Linked DNA regions of Homo sapiens: regions 1, 2 and 3 are each linked to region 4. The links are contacts of gene promoters, found by promoter capture Hi-C in blood cells and fetal thymus (Javierre and others, 2016). All regions are on one chromosome and are shown on one strand. Each heading gives the region's core, a stretch centred on a gene start or on the middle of the fragment in contact. The rest is flanking DNA. Distances are from core to core; before and after follow the strand shown.

Evidence for each region. Contacts are between HindIII fragments. The CHiCAGO score rates a contact against its expected background, and 5 or more counts as called.
Region 1: the fragment with the promoter of LINC00696 here is called in contact with the fragment with the promoter of CISH in region 4 in 1 of 17 cell types (total B cells); the score reaches 8.2 in total B cells.
Region 2: a contact is called between a fragment that was not itself captured here and the fragment with the promoter of CISH in region 4, in 11 of 17 cell types (total B cells, naive CD4 T cells, fetal thymus and 8 more). The highest score is 11.4, in total B cells.
Region 3: a contact is called between a fragment that was not itself captured here and the fragment with the promoter of CISH in region 4, in 1 of 17 cell types (naive B cells). The highest score is 6.2, in naive B cells.

The regions. Positions count from the first base shown.
Region 1 is chr3:52,063,572-52,067,014 of GRCh38, reverse strand. LINC00696 (long intergenic non-protein coding RNA 696) reads left to right here and starts at 1,903. Exons shown (of 1, transcript NR_027331.1): 1 at 1,903-3,443. The HindIII fragment of the contact is 16,366 bases long and covers 1-3,443 here.
Region 2 is chr3:51,666,423-51,669,747 of GRCh38, reverse strand. It overlaps RAD54L2 (RAD54 like 2), which reads right to left. Exons shown (of 23, transcript NM_015106.4): 23 at 1,088-3,325. LOC124906237 (a long non-coding RNA gene) reads left to right here. Exons shown (of 2, transcript XR_007095907.1): 2 at 92-1,131. Among named protein-coding and RNA genes, the nearest start is that of TEX264, 3.2 kb to the left of the region's middle. The HindIII fragment of the contact is 4,778 bases long and covers 1-3,325 here.
Region 3 is chr3:51,794,754-51,798,086 of GRCh38, reverse strand. The region is part of intron 2 of LOC105377087 (a long non-coding RNA gene); the gene reads right to left. Among named protein-coding and RNA genes, the nearest start is that of IQCF6, 17 kb to the right of the region's middle. The HindIII fragment of the contact is 754 bases long and covers 1,185-1,938 here.
Region 4 is chr3:50,609,745-50,613,065 of GRCh38, reverse strand. CISH (cytokine inducible SH2 containing protein) reads left to right here and starts at 1,292. Exons shown (of 3, transcript NM_145071.4): 1 at 1,292-1,435. The coding sequence starts at 1,416. It also overlaps a transcript of MAPKAPK3 not described here. RefSeq lists enhancers at 774-863, 1,773-2,333 and a silencer at 944-1,423. The HindIII fragment of the contact is 4,554 bases long and covers 1-3,321 here.

The DNA of each region.
Region 1 (3,443 bases), core at 654-3,153, 1.5 Mb before region 4:
CGGAGTCCTTGACTACCCCTAGGTCCTCTCTCTACTTTCTGGGCACAAAGAGGTTGAGCAGAAGGCAGGACCAGGCTCTTTACATAGCTCATCTGCTGCCTTGCAACACTCTTGCCTGGTAGACTGAAGCCCCATTTTATAGACCAGCGGTCCTCAACCTTTTTGGCACCGGGGACCAGTTTCGTGGAAGACAATTTTTCCATGGACTTGGGCTGGAGGCATGGTTTCGGGATGAAACTGTTCCACCTCAGATCATAGGCATTAGATTCTCATATGGCGCATGCAACCTAGATCCCTCTCATTCGCTGTCCACAATAGGGTTCGCGCTGCTATGAGAATCTAATGCCAACGCTGACCTGATAGGAGGTGGAGCTCAGGCGGTTCTCCACAGCCCGGGATCTGGGGACTCCTTATAGAGGAAGAAACTGAGGCTTGGAGAGGGGAGGCCAGTGGTGGTCAAAATTGGAGCCAAGTGTCTTGGTCAGGCTCCCCTATCTCCACCCCAACCCAATCTTATCCCTGCCCTGTCCCAACACACATGGCATACTCACACCTTGGTCACCTGAGGGCCACATAGGGCTGTCCTGCTATGCCTGGCAAAGGGCCTGCCAGGTGGTCAGCACTTGACCTTCTCTGGCACAGGTGGGTCAGGCCAAGGCCACTCCTGCTGCCCAAAGTGCATAGGGGTAGTCGAGGGCCCATACCCAGCCACTTAGGACAAAGAGGCCTTTCCTTTCCCTCTGATGGGCCCAATGTGGAACTTCCCTGGCTGCCCCATAGTCCCTGGGAGTCAGGGGAGGCAGAAGGTACTGCCCTGCTTTATAGATGGAGAGATTAAGGCCCAGGGGCTGGGGCACTGCAGAGGCCCCCCAAGTGTGTTGCAGGCAGCAGAGCTGTGTTTCCCCAGCTCCATGGGCTCCAGCTCCTTGGGCCTTTTTGTTGTTCCTGGGAGCTCCAAGTCTGGGTAGTGCCCATGGCCTGGGGAATCCAGCTACCCCTCAGACTGAGTTCTTGGGCCGGGCCTTGGGGCTGTGGGCTGGCTGATGCTTCAGGGTCTCTGGGGAGGTCTCCAGCTCCAGCCAAATGCCTCCCAACACTCTTCAGCCCACCAGCCCTGGGCTCAGCTGCTCCTAGGGCTCAGGCTAGAGGGTTGTCCTGTTGGAGATGGGTGTCAGGGCAGTGCTGTCCTCTGCTGGGAGACTACGTAAGCCACGGGGAGGGGCAGGGAGGTGGGCAGGGGCCCAGGCAGAGTAGGCCCTTGTCCATCCTGTCCCCACCTTGGAGGGCCCACTAGGAGCCCTGAGAGAGCCATTGAACTCCTCCCTCCTCGAGGGCCTGATCTTTTCAGGAAGGGAGTCATCCAAGTCTTGAAGCATGTGCGCCTGTGGCCGGAGTCAGGCTGGGTGGGGCCAGGGCAGGAAGGGGAGTCCTTAGACTATTTCCTGCTGTTGCCTACCTGGGAACAGTCCGCATCCAGGTCCCGGCAGGCAGCTGGCCAGCTGAACCACGTGGAATGGTGCTGGGCTATGAGGCCTCAAGCCAGCAACCCTGCACCTGGGCCAGGCCAGCCGGCTCCCAAGCCATTTCCCAGCTTCGTCATGGTCACCCTCACTGTCACCATCAATGCCTCATAGGAAGGATTCCTGAAAAACGGGGCCGTGTGGGCAGGCAGGGAGGGGACCAGACAGGCCCAGGCAGCAGGCAGATGCTAATGAGGCAATTAAGCCCCTGGCACATCCGCCCACGAGGTGCCATGAGAACTCCTGGCCTCTTTTGCCCTCCCCGCCTCAAAGGTTGGACTGTCTTCACTGTCAGGAACCTCCCACTGCCAGCTCTGCCAATCAAAAAACCATAGGTTGGTTTGGCAAAGATAGAACCAGGGCAACCCCCAGCCCCATCACTACTTCTTGCCATTGCTCTGGTTGAGCAAATGCCTGCCCGAGATGTCTTCTCCCCCTCCCCATCCCCTGCTCAAACCACCTGGGCTCCAGGCCCTTCCTGGCAGAGGTGGCCTTCGAAAGATCAGAAATTTTGAGCAGGGGGCCAAGAGTGCCATGGTGGCCACGTGGGCATGCAGCTAAGGATTCCTGCTCCTGCAAAGCCCTGGCTCCCATCCCTCAGGCTCCCAGGTGGGCTCATGGCGTGCAGCCCACAAGCCCTGGAGTGTAAGGCAGGCGAGAGATCATCCCAGGGCAGAGATGCTGAGGATCGTGGGGAAGGGGATGCAAGAGGCGAGGGTGTAGCCCTCACCCGTGGCTTTGGAGCAGGGAACCCAGTCCACCTGGGTTTATCTGAGTCCTTTCCCCTTCTCCTCTGCCTGCCTCTGAGGCCCGAGGACATCAGATGCAGCACACCTGATTTCCCTGGGCTGTTGAGTGTCTTCTCCTGGCTCTCTAGGGATGACCTCCGTGTCAGCAGATGGGGTGCCCAGGTGAGTCAGAACCCCTGACCCAGCCCAGCCCCTCCTCCAGGCTTGAAGGGGGGTGGCGGTGGGGTATAGGACTAAAACCCAGGCTTAAGACCCCAGGGACCTTCAGGTCCATGAAGAGGTGGGAGTTTGGGCTCATTCTGTGGAGGACGGAGGAGCTGTAGCTGGGTGGGGGAAATCAAGGGCTATGGTCCAAGGCCAGGATGAGGCCTGCCAGGCAAGGTGCCAGCAGGTCCATCCCTTCATGTCAGGGAGCCCTCTGGCTCCAGAGACTCTCACTGAGTGACTCTGGGCAGGTCATACAGAACAGGCTGAGGCCCAAGGAGGGAATGGAAGTAAGAGGCTTCTGGAATCATCGAGTATGGCAACGGAGGGCCAAAGATGTTTTGTTTTGTTTTGTGGGTTTTGTTTGCTTTGGTTTTTTGAGACAGCCTCTCGCTTTGTCGCCCAGGCTGGAGTGCAGCGGCATGATTATGGCTTACTGCAGCCTTTGCCCCTCAGGCTCAAGAAATCCTTCCACCCAGTGTCCTGAGGAGCTGGGACTACAGACATGCACCACCACACCCAGCAATTTTTTTTTTTTTTCCTGTAGAGATGGGGTTTCGCCATGTTGCCCAGGCTGGTCTCGAACTCCTGAGTTCAAGTGATCCACCCACCTCAGCCTCCCAAAATGCTGAGATTACAGGTGTGAGCCACCACGCCTGGCCCCAAACATGTTTAAATCATAGGACCATGTGCTCATGGCTGACAACACAGAAGAGTCTAGAAGTAGGCCAGGGTTCCAATCCTGGCTCTGCCACTTCCCAGGTGCCCACTGTGGCCCTCAGAGGATGAGTGGGTTTGGGGGACAGAATAAGAAGGTAGTCAAAGGCGAGAGCTGGGAGAAGAGGGTTTCAGAAGGGGGATCAGTGAGGGCAGAGGCCCTGCAGAAGGAGCCCGGGCTGGGGAAGTGCGGGTGAGAGAGTGAAAGCTGCTGGAGAATCCAGGACGAGGAGAAGAGGGAGGGGAGGGGTCA
Region 2 (3,325 bases), core at 619-3,118, 1.1 Mb before region 4:
CTGCTTCTCAGAAGGTGGTGAGCTTTTCCCAGGAAACCATTATAAGGAAGTGCCCATTCTTTATCTTGTTCTCTCTGCTCACTTCCCTTAGCCTGATTGGGGAACTCTAGAGCCCCACATCAGAGTTCAACATGTGCCTCAGGAGCTTCAGCACCTCTTTTGTGGGAGGAGAGTCCGCTGGTGACTGGGGCTGCAGGCCATGACATCAGCCTGCCCAGCTTCACCTCAGGCTGCTTCCAACAGTGCCAAGTGAGGTCCCTTGGCAGGATCCCTGCAAGGCAGCGGCTGGCCACCAGGAGGCAGCAGCCTACTCTACAAGGCACTTTCTTCATTCCAACCCCTTGTAACAGGTCTGAGGAAACCTGTTCGCCCAGCCATGTGCTGCAACCATCCTCCACTCCCAATCTTATCTCCCAATAGCACAGATTCCCCTATCATGAGTCCAGACTTGGCCTTCATCTCCTCTTGCCTTCCTCTGTCCAAGGAATCACTACAGAGATTCTTTCTCTATCCTTCTTTGTAAATTTCCAGAAAATTGTTTCCCCAGGGCCCCTCCCCTTGAAGAAATTAAACAGGAAGCTGGAGTAGACTGTCCCTTCTTTCCCCCACCTCTCACACTCCAAAGCTCTGTTTAACTCTGTGGGCCAGTGGCTAGATTCCCCAACATGGATGACAGAGAATACACATGCAATAAGAATGTTTTCGCTGCCACCAGCCACTCACAGACACACTGTCTCCCACCCTCTGAAGGCATTGTGCCCAATCCCCAGCCACTCACTGTCTAGTCAGGGCTGCCCCTGCAGGACTTGCCTTGGCTGAGGACCAGCTAGCTTCAAGCCACTCTGAAGTCAGCTTGCTGTTTCCCCTGGAGCCTGGTAATACATCCTTCTTCAGGTGAACAAAAGCAGAAAAAGCCCAGTGAACCCCACTGCAACAAAGAGCCTGCCATCAGTCTTCCTTCTGTTCCTGCCTATCTCATCACCCAAGGGCTATCCCAGAGCCCACTATGTTCTAAGATCTATTCCTTTCACCACCACCCAGCCAAACAACTATCCAGACAATTCCTTGATCAAACAACACTGCCTTCTTGAGTTTAAATTTTATTTTACAAAAAGAGAAATAAAGAAAACTGATAGGCAGTTATACTGACTTACAATTGTTCTGTTTGCTTTTTTTTAAAAAAGTGACATGAAACACAAGTAAAAATAAATACGTCATAGAAACAGCCAGTTGCCCAGTCTCTGGGGCAGGAGCGCCTGCCCTGCTGAGAGGAGGGAAGCCCATGATCACACCAGCAGCTGGATCACCCAGCCACAGATGCTCCTCGAAGCCAGGCACAGGTCCCAGGCCTCAGGGGCGTCCTGAGGAAAGAAGACGGAAAACCAAAGCCAGGTGCCAGGACCCTGGGGCCACCTCATTATCCCCCACTCCTCCTGGCAGCAGTCTGGTCTTAGTGGTTATCCATAGCGACCCCCCTTAACCCACCTGGACCCTCTTCCCCTGACCTCTCTGAAGATGGTACAAGGGAAAAACCTGTCTTGGGCAGGCTGGGGGGGATTCTTCTGGTGAGTCCCCAGCCCACCCTGAGTAACACAACCAGATAACAGTCATTTTACACCCAGGTGCACATGAGCACAGCACACAAACACACACACACACACTCACACACACACACACACACAGCTGGGCTGAGCTCTCTTCCAGGGAGGGTCCTGGGTCCAGTCACAGTATGAGGTCCTCTCTCTTCTGAATATCATCCCAGTAGTGGCAGCAGAGAGTACCCAAACCTCCCCAAGCCCTCTGCATTGCAGACACTGCAGCCTGCTTGGCTACCCCTCCCCAACACACTAGATTACTATGTCAAATAGACCTGCAAAAGGGAAAGGTGCACACTCAGGTCCCTGAAGAGCAAAGAAGTTGGACACTGCCTGCTCAAGAAGTTCATTGTTATAAGACTCAGGTATTCATAAAAGGCCTAGGGCTAAGCTAGTAGCACAGAAAAGCCGTTAAGGGGATCACAGCAGAATACACAGGGCAGAAGAGAAGAGTTGGCAGCAGGGGAACGGAGTCTCAAGGTGACCAATAGAGAGCACAACATTCTCAAATAGTCCTTGAGGTGCTGATTCCTGGGAGTAGTCAGCAGAGGGCCAGAACATCTCCCAGGGGTCCTTTTGGGGAAGGATGACTTCACTTAGTTTTAGGGGTGAAGAGCCACTGAGCTGGGTGCACAGAAGGCCATGGCTCAGAAGGGAAAGACTGATCTGAGAAATCAAAAGGAAGTGGGGGCCAGGAGCAGTGGCTCACGCCTGTAATCCCATCACTGGGAGGCCGAGGAGGGTGGATCACTTGAGGTCAGGAGTTCAAGGCCAGCCTGGCCAACGTGGTGAAACCCCGTCTCTACTAAAAAATATACAAATTAGCTGGGCATGGTGGTGTGCACCTGTAATCCCAGCTACTTGGGAGGCTGAGGCAGGAGGATCGCTTGAAACCGGGAGTGGAGGTTGCACGGAGCCAAGATCACACCATTGCACTCAAGCCTGGGTGACAGAGCAAGACTCTGTCTCAAAAAAAAAAAAAAGGAAGTGGGAAGCAGAAGGTAATATCCAGAACACTAGTAACAAGGAATGTAAAGCCCCCAGAAGACCTTCCCCATGGGATGAGGACTCAATTTCAGAGCAATGCCAGGTTTGAATAGACTCACACAGAGGGCCCTTCTCTGCTGACAACTTTGGGAGTGATGGTCCTACCCAGGCCACTTAAGTTTGGCTAAGTGTTTCAACCAATCTGCAAAACTGTACCCCAGCACTTTGCTTCCTGCTCCTGAATTGAGAAATTTCATATTTAGTTGTGAATCACAAGCATATAGAGACTCCACACACTAATTCCTAGGGAAGAGAGCTCCAAGGATCACAAGCATATAGAGACTCCACACACTAATTCCTAGGGAAGAGAGCTCCAAGGACCAGACAGAATTATCCTTAAATCAGGAGATGATGAGATAGATGCCTAAAAAGCATAACTCAAAGGGGTGTGGACTTCATAGATATCCAATCTAAAGAAAATGATATGACCCAACATGGTTCACTTCCTTTCTTAAATAGCTACTTTGTCCCTGTTCAATTTTTATCTACAAATATATTAAGAAAAGGAAATCAAGCATCACTATAAATGGTAAACCTCAATCATTAAGTAGTACTGTGTTCCCCAGGCTGAGAACTTGGCTAAACCAGATGAATGGGGCTTGAGAGGCCCTTGAAAACATTCCATGGAAGACAATGGTAAGGGAAAACGCCTAGGCCTGATTTTCTGCCCTCCCTCTTATCAC
Region 3 (3,333 bases), core at 312-2,811, 1.2 Mb before region 4:
CTTGAACCTGGGAGGCAGAGGTTGCAGTGAGCTGAGATAGCGCCACTGCACTTCAGCCTGGGCAACAGAGCGAGACTCTGTCTCAAAAACAAACAAACAAACAAACAAACAAACAAAAACAACCTTTGTTTGCAATGCAGTTCCACCCTTCACCTTCCTACAACTTATCACCACCCCTACTAGAGCCTAGAAGAACTTTGCCTTCAGCTATTGTTTGTGCTTCAGTCTCATTCATCCTTCTTAAAAATCATTTACTCTTCCTCTAGAATTGTCTACATCTTCCACTTTCCTCTCCCATGTGAAGAAGGTATTTAAGCTTCAATTATCTGACTTTTCTTTGAGTTTCATGCTTGTATGATTCCCATGTGCTTGCATGCTAATACATTTGTATGCCTTTTCTCTTGTCTGTCTATCGTCAGTCTATTTCAGCAGATTCAATTATCAAAACTTCAGAGGGAAAATTTAAACTTCCCTGGAGGTGTCAGGTAGCCTAAAATCTGGCTAAAGCCCACCACTGTGAGGAGGTTTCCGTGGGAAAAATATATCGATGTAATTTACCATATTAACAGATCAAAGAGGAAAACAGTGAAATCCTTCCTGCTTGAAGCTGCCTTTGCAAAAATTATAACTGAGAGAATTCTGACAGTGAAAGAGATCTGACCCAACTAACTCCATCTTGCTTCGAACCTCCAAGCTGTTCTTGTTCATTCCTGGGCATAGGCTGAACTAACTTTGGGAGGAATTTAGTTTGTAGCCCAACTTTGAAACAAAGATGGTAACAGCCCTTTCCAAAACAAACCTCCTTCCTGCCTGGGGGTTAGACTGCCTTTGCAGAACTAACAAATTAGCCACAAGATTAGAAATTATGGTTTAGGAGTCATGCAGTTAGAAGCTGCAAGATTATGGACCTCCCCAAATTGTCCCTGGGGATAACATTACTGTTGTAAAACCTAAGATCAGTACTTGAGATATTTTCAGACCCTGTACTTGATGGATCAGTAGACACCACCCAAACCAGTAAACTGGTTCATTTGGTCTTGTGGCCTCCCCACCCAGGAACTGACTCAGCACAAGAGAACAGCTTTGACTCCCTATGATTTCATCTCCAACCTGACCAATCAGCGCTTCCCACTTTCTGACCCCCTACCTGCCAAGTTATGCTTAAAACCCCCTATCCCCAAGCTTTCAGGGAGACTGATTTGAGTAATAATAAAACTCAGGTCTCCCATACAGCCAGCTCTGTGTGAATTAAACTCTTTCTCTATTGCAATTCCCCTGTCTTGATATTGGCTCTGTCTAGACAGCAGGCAAAGAGAACCCACCGGGTGGTTACATGCTGTTATTAAAAAGAAAAGCATTTAATAAACATCTTGATTGCAAAAAACAATTAGCACACAAGAATGGAAGGAAATGTACTTAATTTGCTAAGGCTAGATAAAATGAAACTCCTGCAAATGTCCTCACTGGTGGGAAAGCATAAGAAACAACCCCATTAAAGTCAGAGGGAAACGTGGTGCCACTCCCCACAATGCTTTTCAACGCTGTTCTTGAGTCTTTGTGCAACAGCAGAAGGAAGGAAAGAAGGAAGGAAGGAAGGAGGGAGGGAAAGAAAGAGGTATCATGCTGGAGGAAAAAAACTACAAAGTTGTCAGTATTTATAACTGATATGGTCACCTACTTTAAAAACCCCAAAGAATCAACTAACAAATTATTAGAACTACGAAATGCAAGGAGAATGCGATTATTATTGTAAGAAATTTCAACATCAGTAGCCAAAAAGCAGGGACATGGGGGAATTGAATAAACAGTAATCATCAAGCAGTCATCAGCAGATACATACAGAACTTTATATCTTTCAAACAGAGAATAATCATTTATTTCATATGTCCAGAGAATATTAACAAAGAACTGCCATGTACTTGGCCACTAAAAGAAGCTTAAAAACAACAAAAAAATAGAAATTGTATACATATTTTCAGTGATCATATCCAATAAAATCAGAAACAAATAATTTAAAAATTAATAAAAGTCTTACCTCATTGGAAATTAAGAAAAACTCTTAAAGGAAGGTGAAATCAAGATAAAATTGCAAACTACCCATAAAGCAATGAAAAAATAGACCACTTCCTAATAAAGCCTGGGCTTAGAGGGAATTTCACAGCCTCAATGCCTTATTATGGAGGATGGACCCCAACAGCCTCAAATGCCTTATTATGGAAGATAGACCCCCAAAATACATCCCAAAAATGTGGGAACTCATCCTAACAGTGAGAAAAAAGACAAAACAATCTAACATAAATGAAGACTAGGAGATAATAAAAGTTTGAATTAGTGAAATGGAAAACCAAGAAAAAAAGTTAAAGGAAAGATAAACTCAAAAGCTGTTTCTTTGAAAAACAGACAAACAAACAAACAGATAGACTCTCCAGTTCTCTTATAAACCAGATTAAAGAAAAAAAAGAGGGTAAAAATATACAAGACAGAAAATGAGAACTGAGACTCAACTACAGATGTGGTGAAATTAAAATTATATTAAGGAGAACAACACTATGCAAGTTTATGGCAAACCAAATTTGAAACTATTGAGGGAATGGATGGTTTTCTAACAAAATCTAAATTACCAAAATCAATCCAAGAAAAAATAGAAAACTTGAATAGAACAATTACCAAGGAAGATTATATTTTTATATATTAAATATTGCCCTGGAAGAAATAGTTTCATAGCTGAGCTTTATCTAACCTTTAGAGAGAAGATCATTCCAAAGATATTTAAACTATTCCACATAATAGAAAAAAGAAAAGAAATTCTCCAATTCATTTTACGAAGCCAGATTACACTTCATACCAAATCTGATAAAGATAGCTCCTCCCCCAACAAAAAGATAGACCAGAGAGGTTGGCAAACATTTCTGTAAAGAGCCAAATAGTAAATATTTTAGGTTTGGGGCCATACAGTCTCTTTTGCAAGTACTCAACTCTACCACTCACAAAAGCACTCCGAACAATATGTAAATGAATGAGTGCAGTAGTGTTCCAAATAAATCTTTATTTATGAACACTGAAATTTGTATTTGATATAATTTTCCATTGTCACAAAATACTACTCTTCTTTTAATTTTTTCGCAACCATTAAAAAATGTAAAAACCATTCTCAGGTCGTGAGATGTACAAAAACGAGTCGTGGGCTGAATTTGGCCCAGGGGCAGTAATTTGCTGACCTCTGCTATGGCCCAATCTCAGTAATCAATACAGATGTAAATGTAAAAAAATTGAACATTACCAAATAGAATCCAGCAGTGTGTCCAAAGAACAAGACAGTAAGAGTAAATAAGG
Region 4 (3,321 bases), core at 43-2,542:
GAGATTCACAGACCCTACAGTCCTTCAAGATGCTCCATAGTGAATCCAGTGAACTGAAAAAAGGTGGAGAGGGTCCTGGTAGGAGCGTGGGCTTCTGATTCAGAGCTGGGACCAAGCTCTTACCCTGCCATTTCCTAGCATTTGTTCCCTGGGGCTGTCTTCTGTCCGCATAACGGGAGCAACACCAGTTGTAGAGGATCAAATGCAGCAAGTACTCCCTGTAGATAAGAGCGAGTGTTACTACTCTGCCCCCGCCATCCCGCCCCAACCTCTATCACCCTACTCCCAGATTATCTCCCTATGTTTTGAGTTGCAGGACTCTCTCTCAGCATTTTTTTTCTGGCGGGGGGTGGGGGTGGTACCAACCCAGAGTCCGGGCCATCTGGGGCTGTCTCTGCTTGCTTTCTCAAATCTGTAGTCTCTTCTCCCCTGACTGGCAGGGCCGGCCAGAAACCAGTGCCAGCCAAGACTGGATGGTCTGCCTGATTCGAAAAGTTGGGGCGTGCTTTCTCCTTCAACTCTTTCAAAGAAAACGTTCTTGTCTGGATCTTTCTGGCTGTGGTGACCGCCGGCTTGACCTCAGTGGACCCACTCATTTCTGGAACTGTCCTCTGCACCCCGCCCTGCCCTAAGTCCCGCTCCAGATCTCACCCCATGCCACCCAATCCGACACCCGACACACAGAGTCCTAGGGTCCAGGAGCGGCCGTCCCAACACGGGGCGCTTGCACACGCCGACAGACCTCCTTGGAGGAGCCGCTCGCAGGGAGGACAAGCCCGGGACTCCGCCCCCCGCCCTGCCACGAGTTCCACCGCGAGATAAGAGGGCCCTTCCCCAACGACGCAGAATGCCAGAAGGCAATCTGGGCGCGGGTTGCTGAGCCCGGGCCCCTCCTTAACTTCCCCGACCCGGTCTTTCCCCACTGATCTCTCCGACCTGCCCCTCTGGGTAGCTTCAGCCCCGGGTCCACGCGCTGCTATTGGCCCTCCCCGACCGCTCGGCTCCACCTTCAGCGTCGCGATTGGTCAGCTCGCGGGGCCCCGCCCCGTTTTCCTGGAAAGTTCTTGGAAATCTGTCAAAGTATTTCCTTTCACTGCTCAGGGCCCCAGACCCGGCGACGGGGCCCGCGCACCCCGCCCGGGCCCCACCGCTCAGCCCGCGGTTCTAGGAAGACGCTGCTTCCGGGAAGGGCTGGAACGCGGCAGACAAAGGATTAGGCAGCAGCTCGCCCCGCCCCGCTCGTCTGGCCCGCCCCCCTCGCCCTCGCAGGCGGTCCGCGCCACTGCCTCTCAGTCCCTGTCCTGCGCCCGCGCGCCCCGGGAGCCTACCCAGCACGCGCTCCGCGCCCACTGGTTCCCTCCAGCCGCCGCCGTCCAGCCGAGTCCCCACTCCGGAGTCGCCGCTGCCGCGGGGACATGGTCCTCTGCGTTCAGGGGTAAGCGCGGCTCTCTGCCCCCTTCCCGGCCACCACGAGGGGCGCACGGGAGAACAGGGGCTTCGTGCTAGCTGCCGGGCATTGGGAGGGCTTGACGGGCCAGAGGTGACTGAGCGCAGACGGACCTCAGGAGCAAGGCTCTGTGTGGGGCTGTGACACTCCCACTCCCCGCCCCCACACACTTACCTCAATTCCCACTGTGGATTGGGAAACCGGGGGCTGGCCGGCTAAAGGAGGAACTCACAGGGTGGGCTCAGCCTGGGTTCTCATTGGAGCAGATGGATGCTAACGGCACGGCGTCCCCCAAGATGTGGCCAACAATCCCAGATATTCTTCTGGGCCCAGAGCACTCTACGCTAGCCTGCCTGCTGCCCTGCCTGCTAGTAACCTTGGACCAGCCCCTGGCCCCCTCTGTCCTGGTGTCCCCTCTCCTGCCCCAGGCTAGCAAGTAGGCTCTTCTTGGGAAGCCAGCCGCAGATCCTTGCCTTTCCTCAGGCTGGCACCTGATGGTCTGCAACTCTCGGGAGGCCCTGGGTTTGGCCTGGTCCTGCTTGGGGTACCCCCACAATCGTCTCACAACCCTGTCTCAGCCCAGTCTGGGATCCCAATGTGAGAAGGACCTTGGCTCCTGCCTCTCATCTTCAAATTTCCCAGACTTGAGGTAAGGGACAGTGGAGAGGGGATGCTGATAAGACAGAGTCTTGACCTGAGCTGAGCATTCCTGGCCATCCACTCTGTCCTGAACCTCAGCAACCCCTTCAACCAAAGGGTCTGATGCTGGCCATGGTGATGTGACAGGAGCTCAGGAAGCTCCAAGGAGAGAGGAAGAAGGTATAAATGGGTGTTCTGCACTCAGGGAGGACTGGGTGGCTGTGCTTATCGCAACTGGCCTGGTGCCAAGTGAGGGAGGGTGGAAGGTGAGGCCAAGGAAGAGGACATGGAGGTGCTGGGAAGACTACTTCTCCCTTGCTGTCTCCAGCAAGTTCCTTCCTCCTGTCTGCATTCTGGGACTCCTGAATACCTGCCCCACCACTGCCTTCCACCCCAGGAGCCTCCCCCTGCATTCCGGGGTCCCATAGCCTCTTTCACTTTTTACCCTAGGTGAGCACCCCCTTGTAAGCTCAGGGCTACTGTTGGGTGTCAGGGAACAAAGTTTTAGACTGCTGCGCTCCAAAGCGGGCACACACATGTACCTAGAACACACCAGCCACTGTCCCCACCATGATGATGACACAGCCATGGACACACCCCTGCCCAGGTACACACTCACCAGGAGCTTGTGGTGATCAACACAGCTATTCATACACCCAGCTACCACATCAGCCCCAAAGGTGCCCACACCTACATGTGGGATCTGAGGACCGGCTAAGCTATCTGGACGTGGCCACCCACAGAGGTTCCAGCCTGACTGGCTAGCCACCAACCATGCTCCTGGGAAGGTAGCTCTGGGCCCCAGCAAGCAGGTCATCTCAAAATTTGGCCTCCAGCTCTCCAAGAGGGATTTCCAAGATCCCACAGTACAGCCAGGGTAGGTGTGGAAAAGTTTTTGTCAGGCTGTGGTGTGCCAGAGTTGTGTGGCCCTTTCTCACTGTGAGTGGTCATAGGGCCATGATTTGTTAGAACCTAGAGGGTCACCTATAACCTACACAGGAGTCAGGTCTGGCTCCTGCCACCAGCTCCTGCCTGCGCCTTCCTGCCTCACAAGCAATACTGGCGCTGTTTGCCCATGCTGTCCTCTCTACCTGGGGTCCCTTCCCCCAGCTCCTTCCTTTGGCCTGGAAGACACAGCTCAGGAGCAAGCAGACCCTGACTCCCCCGTGACACCTGCAGTTTTATGACTTTGCATTATAATTACTCTTAGTGTCATCTTCCCCAGCCAGTCTGGT